Linked DNA regions of Homo sapiens: region 1 is linked to region 2. The links are contacts of gene promoters, found by promoter capture Hi-C in human tissues and cell types (Jung and others, 2019). All regions are on one chromosome and are shown on one strand. Each heading gives the region's core, a stretch centred on a gene start or on the middle of the fragment in contact. The rest is flanking DNA. Distances are from core to core; before and after follow the strand shown. Region 1 overlaps GABRG3 (gamma-aminobutyric acid type A receptor subunit gamma3). Region 2 holds the start of GABRG3 (gamma-aminobutyric acid type A receptor subunit gamma3).

The links. Contacts are between HindIII fragments. The study calls those that stand out against the background at their distance.
Region 1: a contact is called between a fragment that was not itself captured here and the fragment with the promoter of GABRG3 in region 2, in 2 of the 25 tissues and cell types used here (dorsolateral prefrontal cortex and small bowel).

The regions. Positions count from the first base shown.
Region 1 is chr15:27,163,747-27,166,446 of GRCh38, forward strand. The region is part of intron 3 of GABRG3 (gamma-aminobutyric acid type A receptor subunit gamma3); the gene reads left to right. Among named protein-coding and RNA genes, the nearest start is that of GABRG3-AS1, 3.8 kb to the left of the region's middle. The HindIII fragment of the contact is 3,407 bases long and covers 1-2,700 here.
Region 2 is chr15:26,969,838-26,972,537 of GRCh38, forward strand. GABRG3 (gamma-aminobutyric acid type A receptor subunit gamma3) reads left to right here and starts at 1,344. Exons shown (of 10, transcript NM_033223.5): 1 at 1,344-1,751. The coding sequence starts at 1,699. The HindIII fragment of the contact is 15,270 bases long and covers 1-2,700 here.

The DNA of each region.
Region 1 (2,700 bases), core at 100-2,599, 190 kb after region 2:
CTTGAGTGTCCCCAAAACTTTTGTGAACTTATCTCTCCTAATGTAAGCATCACTGTCTACCATGTGCGAGTGGGCTTGCTTGTCTTAACCATTCCATGAAGTAAACAGTTCTGTGTGGCAGGGAACGTGCAGGTCTTCTTGGCATCTCTCCCCTGCAGGGGCTGTGAGAGCCTGTGAGGGGTGCCAGTGTCGCTCAGCTGCACCTTAGGAGCGGACCAATTCAGTTACGGGGGGATGGAAGAAGGAAATGTCAGAGGGACCCATGTCCATGTTCGCAAGCAAATTTTATTGTAATTACACATAGAATAAATTAGAATGTTTCACACATAAACATTCCAAAATTGTTTTCCCACTTTTACTTGGAAAATGCTCAAATGTAAAGAAAAGCTGAAGAATAGTATAATAGACACCTATTTACTCTTCACCTAGATTAATTGTTATCCTTTACCACATTTACTGTCTCTCCAAACACACACACACACACAAACACAGCTTCTCTTTTGCCAATCCTTTGAAAATAAGTTGCAGACATTACATGTCAGTCCTGAATATTTCACATGTACCACCTAAGAATGAAAACATTCCCCCGCATACTCACAATACGGTAAATCAAAGTTGTCATTTAGTATCAAATCTACAGTCCAAAAATACTACTACCCCTAATGTTACTGTAATTGGTATTAGCACATTAGTGTTAGTATTAGCACACAAGACAAATAGTACTACTGGGTTCTCAGTTGCAGCTGAAAGATCTTTCATAGCTTTGATCCAGGTTTGATCCAGGAATCAAAGCTTCACCCTTGACATTTTTACTTGTTGTGTCTCTCCAGGCTCTTTTGATCTAGATTGGCACCCTCCTATTCAATTTGATGTATTTGTCATGACATTTACTTTCCTGAAGATTCCAGGGCAGTTATCTGTTAGACGGGTAAAATGTCCTGCATTCTGCAATATCTGATAGCTCTATGATGATGAGATTTACGTCGAACCTTTTGTGGCTGTAATATCACATTGGTGAAATCATTTTAGACATTAAGTATCAAGTATTGCACTGACTACTGTTTTGAAAGGGGATCTTCTCATCATAATCTGTACACATTCGTTAGTTCTTTACAAAATAAGGAAGTGATATTAATACAGGTGGGCTCCTCTCAGTGGAAAGTGATGTCTCTCGTATCAAGCGATGTTGCTTCATGAAGTGTTTAGAAAGCCAGTTCCAAAAGCAGATCAGTAATCAATCTTGGATAAGAACTTTTTTCAAACCATTCATATAAATGTTGTCCAAGACATTTAGGATGGCAAAAGTGCTTCTGAATATTTTTACTAGTGAAATTTGAAAAAAATATAGAATTTAGAATTTGACATACCAAAAACTGATGGTTCTTGAGATCAACCATTCAGGGCTATTTAGTTTCCTCTCCCAGATAATTTTCTTTCCTTTTTGCCTGATATGAGGCAGATGGAGTAGGGCTTCATGCCAGAGTACCTTGTTACTGGTGGTATGTTTACCGACAATTAGACTTCCAGCATTGGGCAGTGCTGGCGAGGTCACCTAACCCAGCATTCCACCTCCGCCCAGGCGCTGATCCCCACCAAGCACACAATGACCTCCATGACAAAGCCTCTGTGTCAGGGCATCTTTGACAATTGAAATGCTGGAAAATTCTGTGTGAAAATGTCCTCATTCTTTCACTGGTCAATCCAGGTTCTAGTTCTTGTCATGCTTTATCCACCTTAAAACCCTTCAAATATTTGAAGATTGCTCTTACATTCTCCAAAGATGTTCTTCTCCAGTGTTAGCATCCTGAGCTCCTTCTGCCTTTCCTCTTCAATCTCCCAAGTGCATCATTTCTGCTTGCTTTCTCTTTAACATGTGTGCTCTAGCATTCTGTCTCCCCTCTCTTCCTACAGTTCTTTCCTCACACAATAATTTAAGTCTGCCATGCACATGTCATGCCTGTGAAAACCAATATAAACTGCTGGTCCTTAGGGAGCTCACCAGTCAGTGAGAGGAGGATCAGGCCAGCAGAGGATGCTATTGACAGTGAGATGGTACCTGTCTGGGGCACCTGTCATACCTGTCGCAAAGGAGGAGGTGGTTGCTAGCCCTAGAGGAAGAAAAGGCAACCTCAGTATTGGAGGAGTGGCTGTTTTCTAGGTAGGGGTGGGCATGGCATAAGTCCAAGAAGTGAGAGATGTAAGAAGACATGCAAAGCTACAAAGCAGGGGAGAGCAAGACACCAGACAGTGGGATGGGGTGGGATGCAGCGAACCAGCACAGTGAGCCTTCTGAGCCTTTCTCAGTGGCTCTGATTACGTCTTTAGGCAATGCGAAGCTTGCAGAATGAGATTCACATTAGAGTGTAGTAACAGGGACAGACACACCTTTTATTTTAGAAGGAAGTTGGATGGAAAATGCATCCATATCCATCTCCATATGAGATAGTGAACTTTCTCAACTAATATTCAGATAATATTCAGAAATAACAGAGGGGAAAAGTACAAAAAGAAGTGTATTCTTCTTTTCTTTGAACAAATTTTCTTATGGTATCTCAGCTGATTGCAAATAGAGTATCACCATTAATTCCATTTTAGTATTGATTTGCTCTTTTAAAAAATCAATTTAAGAAATGCCCTAATGTGGACAACATCTTCTTCTTTGGGTTTTAGAGTGGTTTGTTATTTTGTAGGAAGAGTGAA
Region 2 (2,700 bases), core at 94-2,593:
TATGATAAAGGCTCATATTCCCCTGAAGCCTAAAGGAGTGGTACAGGTGTTGGAAGTGGAAGAATGCAGGAGCGTCAGAGTCTTCATCAAAGAGGGGACCTTATAGGGCATGTGCACCTAAGTAGGAGGGATGTGCTGGGCAGAGGAGGATGAGAATGCCAGAAAGAGTCCTGGAAAGGCGGGGAGCTGGGTGAGTTCAGCACCTCACAGAGACAGAAAGGTGATGCCAGGGAGATGACAGCTCCATTGTTGAAAAACAATATTGTCATTAACAACTGCACTCCCCTCCACTTCATGCCTATCCAGAAACAAGGGGGAACACACCAGAGGAATACAGGCCCATGCCACCATGCCCAGCTAATTCTTTACTATTTTTTGTAGAGACAGGGTTTTTGCACATTGCCTAGGCTGGTCTCGAACTCCTGGGGTCAAGTGATCCGCCTGCCTCGGACTCCCAAAGTGCCGGGGTTACCGGCTTGGGCCACTGTGCCTGGCCGAACAAAGCTATTTGACAATATTAAAGAAACAGTTATCACACCCTTACATAATTCTATGAATAGCAGTTATAAAACATTTTCTAAGAACTTTTTGGGGGTGATAGAAATGTAAAATTCCTAGTGGATTTACTACACTGTTGCGATTGCAATACTTACATGGTGCAAGACTAACTTTCTGAATGATTATGACAAATGAAAGCGTAAATGCCATTTTCGGTTTTTGGAATATGAAAATACATGGAATGAGGCGCACCTCATGCTTCCACCAAACGGAACGTCTTTGGCTTCTTGCCTTAGGATCTTTCTAGCTCCTACCTTTAACATGCCTTTCCACCTCTACTGTTTATTGCTATGTGTTAGTCTCTCTTTTCTGTAAGAAAGGCATAAATCTGGGGTGCTTTTTTCCCAAATATTCCCGCAGAAAGCCACCTTTCCAAGCACAGAATCTTATCAGTGCCTAGGAGTTCAGCCGACTTAGCACGAAGAGTGCGATGGAAGGGCTGCTTTTGGCAAACCGTCTCAACCCCGGGCGACGGCGGGCACGGGAGGTCAGGGAGCGCTGGAGGAAACCTGCACTGGGGTAGAAATGGCTGGAGGAAGGCGGACCGCGGGCTCGCTCTCATGGTGCCAACCCCGGGGACCTTTCTTCAGGCTCCCTGCGGGATCCCCAGCCTCCCCTCCCCCTCGGAGCTCCGCCCCCTTCCTGGCCTCAAACTCCGAGTCCATTCAAACCTCGCCTTCCTCGCCCTGCGCGTTGTCAGGCGTGTAATTGGGGAAACTCCTCCCCGCCGGGACCGCCTCGGAGGCGCTGCCAGGGGACAGCCGCCCAGCTGCCCCCACCTCCCAGCACAGCGCACACAGCCCCGGCCTGGGCACCCGCGCCCGCTCGCGGCTCCAGGCGGGGTGGGCGGCGCCGCGCCAGGGGGTCCCCGGCGCCCATTGCTCCCGCCGCCCGGTTGCGCGGACCGGCGCTAGTGCGCGGGTGGGGGCGGCGCGCCGCGGTGGCCCGGCGTCCCGTGTGCGTCCAGTGTGCGCCCCGCGGGGGCGCGGCCAGCGCCAGAGTAGATACCTGTCCCGCCCGCCGCGGCCAGCAGCCTCGGAGGAAGCCAGGGCAAAGAGGGCCGGCGGAGACCAGGTCCGCGCCGGAGGAAGCCGCGCCCGGCCGAGGCCCCGGACCCTGCGCCCCGAGCTCCACGGCACCATGGCCCCGAAGCTGCTGCTCCTCCTCTGCCTGTTCTCGGGCTTGCACGCGCGGTAAGTGGCGCGGGGGCCGCATCCCCGGAGGCCCCGAGCTGGGCGACAGGGCGGCGGGGGGCGCTGTCTGCTGGAGTCCCTGGCGCGCCAGCCGTCGGCTGGGCTGCGGCACGGCGGGCCGGGAGGGGACTGGGAAGTCGGTCTGCACCTCACCTGTCCCAGCTCCCTTGGACACGGTCATCTGCTTTTTCCTCTGCAGCCGGGAGTGTGGGGACTCAGATTAATGGGCTCGTCTCCTGACGCTTTTAGGATCTGGTGGTTTTAAGGGGTTTTGAGAACCAGGTTCAGGGGGCAGGGGCCATTTCTGGCTCCTTACCGACCCCTAATTCCCACCTCAGCTGTTTCAGGGGCTCACACACACACACACTTTGGCTGACATTCTCTGTCATTTCCATCACTCTGAAATTTCCAAGAACCCGGGAACCGTGGTTCTAACTGCCTAGTTTAGACCGGGCTGGAAAGAGCTAATGCATTGGAGGCAGGCGCGGGGGGATTGGAACCAGGTGGGCAGAAGAAAGCCCTGCTTGTCTGGGAGGACTCCCCTCCCAGGTCCTGCAAACACACACACACACCTTCCACATCAGCCACTTTCACACAGAGGAACACACGCACTCCCACCCCCATAAAGCACGCATGTCGAAATGGATAATAAGGCTTCTGCCTGGTAATGTAAGAAATCATCTCACCATAAATTCCGCAACCTTCCTCCCAGTACACCAACCGGCTAATGGGAGCTTAGAATCACTCTAGAAGAGATGAAGAGGGCGCATGAGGATACAAGGACAGTGGGACCCAAAGGGTTAAATCCTGTTGCTGTAAACACAACTGGAGATTCTGGGTTTAGTTTCTTTAATTCTGTCTCTCTGGCTGGATTTCTGGCTAGAGCTTGCAGACTGTCCTGTTATTTGAAAATTGGAGCAGTGTCTGGCCTTTACCTCTTTCCCCACCC